Linked DNA regions of Homo sapiens: regions 2 and 3 are each linked to region 1. Evidence: promoter capture Hi-C in 16 types of primary human blood cells and fetal thymus (Javierre and others, 2016). All regions are on one chromosome and are shown on one strand. The core of a region is centred on a gene start or on the middle of the fragment in contact, and the rest is flanking DNA. Distances in the headings are between cores, read along the strand shown.

What was found. The method cuts DNA at HindIII sites, captures the fragments that hold promoters and counts their contacts. A CHiCAGO score of 5 or more calls a contact.
Region 2: a fragment that was not itself captured here is called in contact with the fragment with the promoter of SUV39H2 in region 1 in 2 of 17 cell types (monocytes and neutrophils); the score reaches 6.8 in monocytes.
Region 3: a fragment that was not itself captured here is called in contact with the fragment with the promoter of SUV39H2 in region 1 in 1 of 17 cell types (neutrophils); the score reaches 5.2 in neutrophils.

Annotation. Positions count from the first base shown.
Region 1 is chr10:14,875,942-14,880,115 of GRCh38, forward strand. It overlaps SUV39H2 (SUV39H2 histone lysine methyltransferase), which reads left to right and starts at 2,925. Exons shown (of 6, transcript NM_001193424.2): 1 at 2,925-2,978. The coding sequence starts at 2,948. SUV39H2-DT (SUV39H2 divergent transcript) reads right to left here and starts at 2,718. Exons shown (of 1, transcript NR_186426.1): 1 at 382-2,718. RefSeq lists a silencer at 2,659-3,398. The HindIII fragment of the contact is 2,774 bases long and covers 1,710-4,174 here.
Region 2 is chr10:15,116,411-15,120,584 of GRCh38, forward strand. NMT2 (N-myristoyltransferase 2) reads right to left here. Exons shown (of 12, transcript NM_004808.3): 9 at 2,933-3,103. LOC105376431 (a long non-coding RNA gene) reads left to right here. Exons shown (of 2, transcript XR_930693.4): 2 at 2,813-3,159. Among named protein-coding and RNA genes, the nearest start is that of RPP38, 21 kb to the left of the region's middle. The HindIII fragment of the contact is 1,306 bases long and covers 1,599-2,904 here.
Region 3 is chr10:14,703,823-14,707,996 of GRCh38, forward strand. All of the region lies in intron 1 of FAM107B (family with sequence similarity 107 member B), which reads right to left. Among named protein-coding and RNA genes, the nearest start is that of FAM107B, 69 kb to the right of the region's middle. The HindIII fragment of the contact is 4,120 bases long and covers 1-4,065 here.

The sequences.
Region 1 (4,174 bases), core at 1,675-4,174:
AAAGTGCCAAGATTATACGTGCGAGCCACTTTGCCTAGCCAAAAGCAGTATTTTGTATTTTTTCAAATCTCTTTAATGTCTGGCTTAATAGGAGATAGCTATGTTCTGGTACCTGCGTCTTCGTTCAATGTGTTGCAATATTCAAATTGTGTAACCTCTAGAAAATTCCACTATGTACTCATGAGCGAAGGAAGGCAGAGAACATGTTGGTCTGAAAATAGTTTTGCGCTCATGAACCCTGTGAAGAGTCTTCGGGTCCCAATTACCATACTTTGAGAATTGCTGCTCTAGATAGTAAACACGGTGATGAATGTTGAACAGACAGGGCCTCATCTATGCGCTGGAATGGATGGGATTCAAGACACGAAACGAAACACTGGATTTACAAAATAGTGCGATGCATTCATTATGAATCAAGACCAAAGAACAAAAACCCGACAAGATAATTGCAAATTTTGATGAGTGCTTTTTAAGGATGCAAAGTAGGGCTAAAGAATGAGGTAACATGCGAGGCCTCTGTCAATAGGTGGTGTTTAAGCTGAGACCCAAGTGATCTGAAGGTAGCCATGTGAGGAGGGGAAGGAGCCTGTCCTCTTAACCGGAAAGTAATTTCCAGCTGCCTTCAGTGATTTGCTTTATCCGCTGCTCCTGTCACTAGGAAGTCAGCTCCATGAGGACTGGGTCTTTTTTCTTTCTCATCCACTGCTATATTCCCAGCACCTATCAGGTGCCTGGCACATAGGAGATGCACAGTAAAAGATTTCTGGGTAAGTGGGGCCGGGGAAAGGCCAGGAAAATGAGTAAAGGGGAGAGTGGCACCAAGTGAGGTGAGACAGGATTCCCATCACTGGAGGCCCTGCCGGCCATCTGGAGGTTTGAGTTTTATTCTGAATGCTACGAAGTTCAGAAGTGTATTTTTCCGGATATGTTCAATTTGAGATGTTTGTGCAACACCTAAGGGCATATGTCCATTACGCACTGTGGATATTCTAGCCTGGAATTCAGGCAGAGGCCAGGGCCGGAGACGATAAGTGAGGCATCTTGTGTGTCAAGATGCTATTTAAATCCATGGGAATTGGGGCAGTCACATAGGGAGAGGGCGGAAAAGAAATGCAGTCCCAGGACTACAGTCTCTTCTCTGAGGAACCCAGGTTGGACTGAGGAAAAGGAGCCAAAAAGGATTCAAGAGTGGCCAGTGAGTAGCGATGGCCGCTCCTTGGTGGGCTCTGAAAACATACAGGAGAGGTAATGAATACAGGGGCCGGTTAGGACGGGAGGCTGTATCCAAGTCTGAAGGCATAATCCTAGATAGACTAAGCCTTAAAGGGCCTGGATGCTCTTCCAGGTGACAGGGTTGGACAGGGCCTTTTATTCCTTATCTCAAGGTAATGAGATATGGAATACAAAATTTACTAAGGACTCAAATCTTAGAAACATGTCTGAGAAATGCAGTTGCATTGAAACACACACGGACTGCAGAACAGTATTTGTATTATGATGCCGTTTGTAGCTAAATAAAGTCTGGGAGCATGAGTGTGTGTGAGGAAGTGGTGTTTCCCATCGTAGAAAATGATTAAATATTTAAAAACGAGAAGTTAAAAAGAAAATCACTCCGAAAAGGCTATTTCGTTATTTTCCTATACATTTTTTTCTTCCATAGTTAAAACTATATTTCAGGGGGATTTGTTTTGGTTTTGCTGAATACTAAAAGCTTCATGAACACCTTTTTAAGACGGCTAGACAGTATTTCATAATGGAATCAAATAATTAACTATTCCTTTAATGGTCTGCGTTCATTTCCAGTATTTCAAATTTATACATACTGCTTTGAAACGTTTATGTAATTTTTTACATGAATTTTTTAAGGAGATATCAAATGGCCTTCTGCCAGTTTTCGTTATTTGCTCTAAGATTTCTGCTTTAGGTTGTTTAGAACAATCATGGATGCAGCGTCAAGAATGGGTGGGGGAGGGGGGTGGAGACCAGGTGGGAGGCCCCTGGAGTCGTCCTGCAGCTTCCTTACTAACGTGTCCTTCTCCTCCCGGCCCCCACCCGCCACCAGGCCGAGCTCAGGAGCTTGGCAACAACATGGGAGGGGAGCTCGGGTCCCCTTACAGACCTACCCAATCCCAATTTACATTAAAGTTGAGCCCAGGAGGTCTAGTCTGCAGTGAGCCGTAATCGCGCCACTGCACTCCAGCCTGGGTGACAGAGTGAGACCTCATCTCTTAAAAAATTCCAAGTCCAGCTCCCCCACCCCCGACGATTCGTAAGCCCCTTTAAGTGAGAAGCACTGATGTGGACCGGTGGTTTCCGCTGTGCCGCACATTAGGATCAGCTGGGAGCTGGATAGCACAGGCCACACCCCACACCAACCAGTCGGAATCCCGGCGACTGCCCCAAGCCAGCGGAACCTCTCCAGCCATGCCCACGTGCAGCCGCTTCCGAAGCCCGGAGCTCTAGAGGGAGCGGTGTCGGGGGGAGACTAACCATGGCCCACGGGGCTGCGGTAGCTGCGGAACCGTACCCGACAGGCAGCGTCCCCGGCTCCCTAGGTCCCCGCTGCCCGTGTCGGATCTCGCAGTGTGCGAGTGCTGCCGAAGTAAGACGTCTCCAAAGCGCAAAGTCCTGGCCGACGTCTTCCCGAGTGAAGGCGCCAAACGGGCCTGGCGAAGGGAAGGGGGCGCCGGACACTGCCGAGGATCCGGGAGCACGCGCGCTCGCCCCGCCCCGCTCCTCGCGCTTGGGGCCGGGCCTAGCTTTGGGGCGCAGGCGCGCTGGCCGCCGCGGCGGGGGGTCGGCCGCCAGTGACGTCAGGACGCCGTGCGGGTTCCGTCCCCCAACAAGCCCCGGCCCCCAAGTCCCGCGCGGGCCGGCCAGGGGCGGGGCGTCGGGCCAGCTGAGCTATCCCGTCAGACCGCGCCAGTTTGAATGAAAGCTCTACAAGATGGCGGCGGTCGGGGCCGAGGCGCGAGGAGGTGAGGCTGGAGCGCGGCCCCCTCGCCTTCCCTGTTCCCAGGCAAGCTCCCAAGGCCCGGGCGGCGGGGCCGTCCCGCGGGCCAGCCAGATGGCGACGTGGCGGTTCCCCGCCCGCCGCGACCCCAACTCCGGGACGCACGCTGCGGACGCCTATCCTCCCCCAGGCCGCTGACCCGCCTCCCTGCCCGGCCGGCTCCCGCCGCGGAGGTGGGCACTGTCCGAGCCTGGGGCACTTCGGAAGTGGAGCGTGGCCTCTCCGCCCGCTCGGCCCGGCCCCCTCCGCGTCTCCCGTGGCGGCCTCGGGCTTCGAGGCCGCTCCCCGGCAGTCCCCGGTTGGAGGTCCGGGGGGCACGGCTGCGACTGGCTCCTTTGTGGTGGTTCGAGCGCGGCGTGCGGCATGCGCCCGGGCCTTTGAAGTGGGAGGCGGGAAGCGACGCCCGCCGGCGTGAACATGACCTTAATATCAGAGGGGGAGAGTAAATCGGGGCGCCTGTGTGCTAAGAAAGGGGATAAGCGAGGAATCCCCCCCAAGGCGGACACGCTAGGAGGTTGAGTGCCTCGTTGGAGAATCGCCCAGAAAGTGGGTATTTGAGGTTGCAGCCTCTGGCTTACGGTAACTCTTTCACCCACCGGGAGCTTGGTGTTATTTCTGTGGACGCTGGGGAATTGGGCACCGGGGAACTGGGCACCGAGCGCGCGTGGGTGTGGGCGTCGGGGGGTGTTGGTGTCGCGCACGCTTTGAGAGCCTGGAACTTTTCCGTGCGTTCCGGAATGTAAAGGTGTTTTCAAGCTCGTCTCCTCTCCGCTGGGATTATGACCTCATTATCCCTGAATTTTTCTCCTTGGAGAATGTCAGGGGTTACTGTGAACCAGCGGAAGGTGTTTGTGGTGGTCATGAACTATTTAATTTTGTCAGTGAAATCTTTTTCTGCATTACTGGAGACTGTCGAGAGATTGTCTTTCTTTTTTTAACCACGTGTTTGCAGTTTTTCATGTTCACTTTTTTTTTTTTTTTAATTTTCAAAGAGCATTTCCTTTGCGGGTTGTGTTTTGAATCCTCAACTAGATAAAAATGTTTAGGAAAAGCACACAAACACACCTTGAGTAGATAAGAGGAACCTCCTTTATACGTGATTCCCTTAATGAGGTCAGCTTAACACAAAACGTTCTCTAGTTTTTGTAGATGGAAGGGACT
Region 2 (4,174 bases), core at 1,002-3,501, 240 kb after region 1:
TCAGAAATAGCTAAAGCAGTGCAGAGAGGGAAACTGATAGAACTAAATGCTTACTAGTAACAGGGAAAGGTCTCAAGTCAGTAAGTTCTTCCCTCAAGGAACTAGAAAAGAAGAGCAAAATAAACCCAAAGCAAGCAGACAGAAGGAAACAATAAACACGAGGGTAGAAATCAATGACACTGAAAACAGGAAGACAACAGGGAATATCCAACAAAAGTCTGGTTCTCTGGGAAACAAATCAATAAAATGATACAAGTCTACCAATATGGACAAAAACAAAGAAAGAGAAGACACGAATCACCAATATCTGGTATGAAAGAAGAGATATCAGTACAGATCCCACAGCCACTAAAAGGATAACAAGGGAATAAAATGAACATTAATTACACTCATACATTCAACAATTTAGAAGAAATGGATGAACTCCTCAAAAACTATTAAAACTCAACCAAGATGAAACAGATCATCTGAATAGTGCTATAACCATTAAAGACATTTAGTCCATTATTTAAAAACTCCCAAAAAAGAAACAGCTAAGCTCAGATCATTTCAACTGGAGAATTCTAACAAACATTTAAAGAATTAACACCAATTCTCAATTTCTTCTAGAAAATAGAAGAGGAAATAATACTTCCCAACTCCTATTATGAGACCAGTATTATCTTGATATCTAAACCAGACAGACATTACAAAAAAGGCACTCCAGAGAGATATCTCTCATGAACTCAACAAATACTCAGCAAAATATTAGCAATCAATACAACAATGTATAAAAATAATTATACACCCTGACCAAGTGGATATTTTCTAGGAATGTAAGAGTGACCCAACATTTGAAAACCAATCAATGTAATCTAACATATCAACAGATTAAAGGAGAAAAATCATATGATTACATCTATTGAAGCAGAAGCAGCACTGGAAAAAATCCAATGCCCATTCATAAGAACTCTCAGCAAGTTAGAAATAGAGGAGAATGACCTCAAATTGATTAGGAGCACCCACAGAAAAACCTACAGCTAACATCATACTTCATGGTGAAAGAGTAAATGCTTTTCTCCCACCATCAAGAACACGACGAGGATGACAACCTTCCCCACTCTTTCTCAACAAAGCACTGGAAGATCTAGGTCCTGCATTAATGCAAGACCAATAAATAAAGGCATCGAGATTGGAAAGGAAGCAATAAAGCTGTCCCTATTTGCAGATGACACATTGTCTATGTAGAAATCACAAGGAATCTACACACAAACTCCTGGAACCAGTAAGTGATTTCAGCACTGTGGTAGGATACAAACACACAAAAGAAAGCATTTCTACAGGCTAACAATGAACATGCAGAAACTGAAATTAAAAACACAACACCATTATAATCGCCCCAAAGAAAGTGAAATATCTAGCTATACACTTAAGAAAACATGTACAGGATCTGGATGCTCTTAGAGAATGCTGATAAAAGAGATTTTAAAAGACCGAAATAAATGTAGAGACATTCCATGTTCATGGACTGGAAGACTTTTCAATTATCCTCAAATTAATCTATCAGTGTAATGTAATCCCTATCAAACTACCAGCAAGGTATTTTGTAGGCAAAAATAAGCTTATTCTAAAATGTATATGCAAAAGGCAAAGGAAATAGGTTAATTAAAATGATCTTGACAAACAAGAATAAAGTGGGAGGAATTACTCTACCTGATACTAAGGCTTCCTATATCGCTATAGCAACGAGGTCAGTGTGGTATTAGTGAAAAGACAGACATGGAGATCAACGAAATAGAATATAGAGGACCCAGAAAGGAACGCAATACAAAGTGTTAGTATTCAGCATATAAAAAACCTTTCACGGGCTGGGCACAGTGGCTCACACCTATAATTCCAGCACTTTGGGAGGCCAAGGCAGGTGAATCACCTGAGGTCAGGAGTTCAAGACCAAGCCTGACCAACATGGTGAAACCCCGACTCTACTAAAAATACAAAAATTAGCCGGGCATGGTGGCGCACGCCTGTAATCCCAGCTACTCGGGAGGCGGAGGCAGGAGAATAGCTTGAACCTGGGAGGTGGAGTTTGCAGTGAGCCGAGATTGTGCCACTGCACTCCAGCCTGGGCAACAAGAGCAAAATTCCATCTCAAAACAAACAAACAAAAAACCTTTCATAAATCAGTAAGACAACTACGGTCAAAAAAAAAAAACAGGCAAGTGATGTAAATAGCAAGTTTATAAAAGAAATAAACATGGCTAACAGATTGATGAGATACTCAAATTCATCAACAATGAGGATATAAATTAACAAGATACTGTTCCATACTCATCAGGTGGGCCTAAATAAATTTAAAATCTGACCATACCCACGTCTTGTGAGGATGCAAGGAAACAGGAACTCTCTTACACTGCTCAGGACCTTATTGTGGTGAGCTATTTGGCAATTTCTAAAAATGTGAAAGATGGGTCCAACCACAGACTCAGCAGCTCTAATGATATGCCCTGGAAAGCAGTTCCCAAAATGTGGTCTGTGAACCCTGTGGGTACCTGAGACCCTTTCAGAAATCTGTGAGGTCAAAATGATTTTCATAACACTAAGAAGTTGTTTGCCTTGTTGACAAGTTACCATCAGCATCAACGGTGCAAAGCAGTGCTGTGGGTAAAGCTGCTGGTGCCTTAGCACAAAACAAGACAATGGCACCAGACCACACTCATGGTTACCATATTCCTCAACACCACACCCTCATGGTTCAACAAATGGCAGTTTCACTTAAGCATGTCCTTGATAGAGTATTCAGAATTATTAATCTTATTAACTCTCTACCCTTTAGTACACATCTTTGTAATGTTCTGTGATGAAATAGAAGGAAGTGTGTGTAAATAATTCTGCTGCACGCTGAACACAAAGGGTGCTTCAAGGAGAAGCTTTATGTTTATCACCTTGTCTTTACCTCCACTACAAACGTGTCAATAATGTGCTCCCGGGGGAGGAACCAGTGGGCTACTTCCTCTTCATCCATCACTGGAGCCAGATGAAACTGCTTCAGGTAAGTGTTGATTAATTCTCGAACTGATTTGATATCTTTTGGTTCCATTGGTCTCAAACCTGAAGTCTTTGTAACCTTGTTGGAGGGGAAACAAAACAAATCCAGAAGTTCAGGTAGAAGAGGAGTGAAACGACTTTGCACTCAAAGTGTGGTCTGCAGACCAGCAGAATGAGCAGCACGCGGGAGCTAGTTAGAGCTGCAGAGCCTGGCCCTGCCCCAGATCTAATGAATCCGAATCTGCAACTCAACAAGATTTCCTTGGGTTTGTACATACATTAAGGTTTGAGAAGAGCTGGGTTAAAATATAGGCGAGACAGACAATGTGTTGTATCTTCCTATCTGTGCGGCAAGTCTTTGGTCACTACTGCCCATGACCCAAACAAACATCAAAGGGAACAGTACAAGTTCATGATGTACGCCAATACCCAAAACACACCAATGTATATACCAATGCCAAGAATGTTAACAGTCTACATGATGGGACATAGCCAACTTAGCATGACTTCTGGAGTACAGGCAGCCCTCCGTATCCACTGGTTGTGCATCTGTGGGTTCGACCAACCTTAGACGAAAAATATTCGGGGAAAAAAAACTGGATCGTTGCATCTGTGCTGATCATGTACGGACTTTTTTTCTTGTCATTATTTCTTAAAAATGCAGTGTAACAACTACTTACATAGCATTTAGATTGTATTTGACCTTATAAGTAATCCAGAGATGATTTAAAGTATACAGGACAGGGGGCATGGTGGCTCATGCCTGTAATCCCAGCACTTTGGGAGGCTGATGCCGGTGGATCATTTGAGGTCAGAAGTTCGAGACCAGCCTGGCCAACATGATGAAACCCTGTCTCTACGAAAAATGTAAAACTTAGCCAGGCGTGGTGACATGCACCTGTAATCCCAGCTACTCGGGAGGCTGAGGCAGGAGAATCGTTTGAAACTGGGAGGCGAAGGTTGCAGTGAACCATGATCACGCCACTGCACTCAAGCCTGGGAGACAGGGAGGGACTTCGTCTCAAAAATAAATAAATAAAGTATACAGGAGGATGTGCATACATTATATGCAAATACACAATGCTACGCCATCTTATATAAGGGACTTGAGCACCCAAGGATTCTGGTATCTGAGGGGTCCTAGAACCAA
Region 3 (4,174 bases), core at 756-3,255, 170 kb before region 1:
TAAGGTTGCCATTTATGAGCAGCTGATCATAATAAACTGCAATTTCTGTTTCTCCCCAGGTTCTGCAGCGACTGAAGGGCTTGAGTAGAGAACCAGGCGTGATGATTTAAGAGCAAACATTTTTAAAGGGGGAGAGGAAAAGAAAGAGAAAAATGCTAAAATGTTTGGACAGAAAACTGGGTTCTCCTCCCAGTGGGTATTAAGTGAACCTTGTGGGTTTTGCACAAACCTTTTGAGAGAAACAGCAATCATGGTTCCCATTCTACAGATGGTAGGAGCCACCTTCTATGCTCTGACAGTACATCCAGGTGGTCTACCTGTACATCACTGAAGAATGTTAAATGCCCTTAGAGATTTTAAGGCTTAGGAGAAATCCGATCACTTTATTTTCTCCTAAATTTGTAAATTATCAAAGAGGCTAATTGTAAAGGTTTAGGTAAATTGCTCTGTGTGTGTGTGTGTGTGTGTGTGTGTGTGTTAGTATGTATCAAATAAATACAATAAATGAGTCATCCAAACACACAGGATCAGGTTTTAACTAATAGCCAACAAAATGCTAAGTGTCACAGAAGAATCCAATAACAAACAGTTTCCAACTGTTTACCCCAAAAATATTGTGTGGTTGTAGCCTATCTTCAAAAAGGTGGGTCTACCCAGAGACAGGTCTCTGACAAAATCTACAAATTATACAGAGGGGACGCCCAGCCAAGACTGGGCAGCCTTCAAAGTTCAAGATGGTTAAAAATTAAACTGCATATTTAACTGAATCTAAGGTGAAATCAAAATAGTATAACACATACAATGAGCAAAAATATTTGTAAATAATGGATCTGATATGGGATTAATATACAGAATATATAAAGAATGCCTACAACTCGATAAGAACAAAACAAACAATCTAATTCAAAATAGGCAAAAGGGCCAGGTGTGGTGGCTCATGCCTGTAATCCCAGCATTTTGGGAGGCCAAGGCGGGTAGATTATTTGAGATCAGAAGTTTGAGACCAGCCTGGCCAACATGATGAAACCCCATCTCTACTAAAAATACAAAAATTAACTAAGCATGGTGGTGGGCAACTGTAATCCCAGTTACTTGGGAAGCTAAGGCAGGAGAATCACTTGAACCCGGGAGGCAGAGCTTGCCGCGAGCCAAGATGGCGCCACTGTACTCCAGACTGAGCAATGGAGTGAGACCCTGTCACAAAAAAAAAAAAAAAAAAAATAGACAAAGGACTTGAATAAACATTTCTCCAAAGAAGATACACAAATGCCAATAAGCTCATGGATTGCTGCACCACATCACTAATCATTAGGGAAATGTAAATCAAAACCACAATGAGATACGACTTTCACACCCATTAGAATGACCACTATTTAAAAAAAAGAAAATAATAAGCAGTGATGAGAATGTAGAGAAACTGGAACCCTTGTACACTGCTGGGGGAACTGTAATGGTGCAGGTGCTATAGAAAACAGTACTCATTCCTAAAAAATAATTACACATACAACTACCCTATGAGCCAGCAATTAGACTTCTGCATATTGACCCAAAAGAATTAAAAGCAGAGTCTAGAATGGATATTTGCACACCCATGCTCCTAGCAGCATTGTCTACAATAGCCAAAGGTGTGAACAACCCAAATTTTCCCTGATAGAAAAATGGATAAACAAAGTGTGGTCTAGCCATACAATGGAATGTGATTCAGCTTGAAAAAGGAAGGGAATTCTGACACACACCACAACATAACTGGATCTTGAAGACATTATAATCAAAGAAATAAGCTAGCCACAGAAAGACAAATACTATATATGGTTCCACTCCTACAAGGTCCCTAGAGTAGTCAAATGCATAGAGAGAACAAGCAGAATGATGGTTGCCAAGGGCTAGGTGGAGAAGAAAAGGGGAAGTTGTTTAGTGGGTACAGAGATTCAGTTTTTTGCAAGACGAAAGAGTTCTGGAGATGGAGGGTGGTGATGACTGCACAACAATGTAAACGTATTTGATGCCACTTGTGATCTGAGAGGCCAAAACAGATGCCCTTTTGTCAACTAAGAGAAACTCTAACGTTAAGGCAACAGAAGTTACCTACAGATCAAGGTTTCAGGACCCAACCGGCAGGGCAAATTTCTAAATTCCTATGGCTTACAAGAAAAACCGCACTCTTGCTAAACTCCTATACAATAGGAGCTATCAGGCAAATTAACATACCCTTCCTAATTCTGATTTACAACCCAGACCACTACAACTCTGTTGAACAGAGGATTGGCCTGATAAACATTCTTTCCTGATAAGCAACTGCAGACCTTAAGCCAGTTTCAGCAGCTCATGGAGGCTGTGCACAAACTGTCTTTGTGTCCTATGCTTAACCTTTTGATATATACCACCTTGTTCTATTTTATTTTAAGAGACAGGGTCTCACTCTGTCACCCAGGTGGGAGTACCGTGGTGCAATCATAACTCATTGCAGCCTCAAACTCCAAATTGTTTTTTTTTTAAGACAGCTAAAGTATCCCTCTTGCCTCAGCCCCCCAAGTAGCTGGCACTACCAGAACACACCACCATGCCTGGCTAATTTTAAATTTTTTTGTAGAGATAAGGTCCCACTATGTTGCCCAGGCTGGTCTTGAACTCCTGGCCTCAAGGGATCCTCCCACCTTAGCCTCCCAAAGTGTTGGGATATCTGCCTCATTTTAATGCTAAAACTTCACCCCAAAGTGAACTGGGATGTATGTTACATGTATGTTTACCTATTGCATATGCACTTGACCTCATCCTTATAAATATATATAGCTTTTCCCCAAATCTGCTGAATATGTATGACTATTGTGTAATATAGACATTGTAAGGCATAAAATCCAACCTGCCCTTCCCCTCTTCAAAGAGTGAGCAGCTTTAGTCCATGCTGGAGACTATCTTTTCCTGGTTTGCCAATTGATATTGCCAATAAAACTGTCCCTTCTACTCTTCAGCCATCGTGGTGGTCTTTTGGATGATGCACCCAACTATACACTTAAAAAATGGTGGCCAGATGCCGTGTCTCACGCCTGGAATCCCAGCACTTTGGGAGGCTGAGGCAGGCAGATCACGAGGTCAGGAGATCGAGACCACCCTGGCTAACACGGTGAAACCCCGTATCTACTAAAAATAGAAAAATTAGCAGAGTGTGGTGGCACGCGCCTGTAGTCCCAGCTACTCAGGAGTTTGAGGAAGGAGAATTGCTTGAACCCGGGAAGGCGGAGGTTGCAGTGAGCCGAGATCGTGCCACTGTACTCCAGCCTGGGCGACAGAGCAAGACTCTGTCTCAGAAAAAAACAAAACAACAACAACAAAAAAACAAAACAACAAAACAAAACAAAAAAATGGTTACAGTGGTAAATTTCACGTTATGTGTATTTTATCACCACCCCAACAAAAGAAAATTGTGGAAAGATGATTTTAAGTGGTCTAGCTCTGATTCAATCAGTGCCACCTCCTAAGTGAGTTCAGGGGCTGTCATAACCTTCTTTCAACTACCCACCAATTGCGTTCCCACAATGACATTCTCAAAGACACACAAAGAGGGACTGCATCATCACTCCAGCAGCTCAGAGAAGTTTGCGTTCCCAGGTATCTCCCTGAGATCTCTAATAGGAGCTGAGGCACAAGGACAAAAAGAATCAGGATCACCCAGCAGGATGCCCCGAGACTGACGAGAGGTGAATCCATGACTGCAGAAGAAAAGGCCCTTCTCCCACTTTGTGATCACTGTGGGCATTTATTGTAACTCACAGGGCATGCTGGTCTCATGGGACAGATTCCCCACTCTCTGCTGAAAGCTGTGACGTCTGGGATAGATTAAGGAGCCACATGGCTGCCTTCAGTGGGAGGGCCCAAGTATGTATTCTTGTTTTCTTTTGCATTCTTCATTCTGTTAAAATCGCTTTGCTTTTCCCATCCATAAACATGGCTCCCAACTCCCACTTCATCATACTAGTGAAATGTGCACATGTCTTGGAATCTTTTTTAAGTAATTTAAAAAGAAGTCATGAATCTTTCAATGAATCCCAGCTTGTGAAGGAGACACCAAGCTTATGAGGGAAAAAAAAGAAAAATACAAATTCAGACCAGGCTGTGGAAGGCACAGCATGTGTTAAAATAGCTAGGACTGGCCCTGCCTTCAGCCCCAAATTGTCCT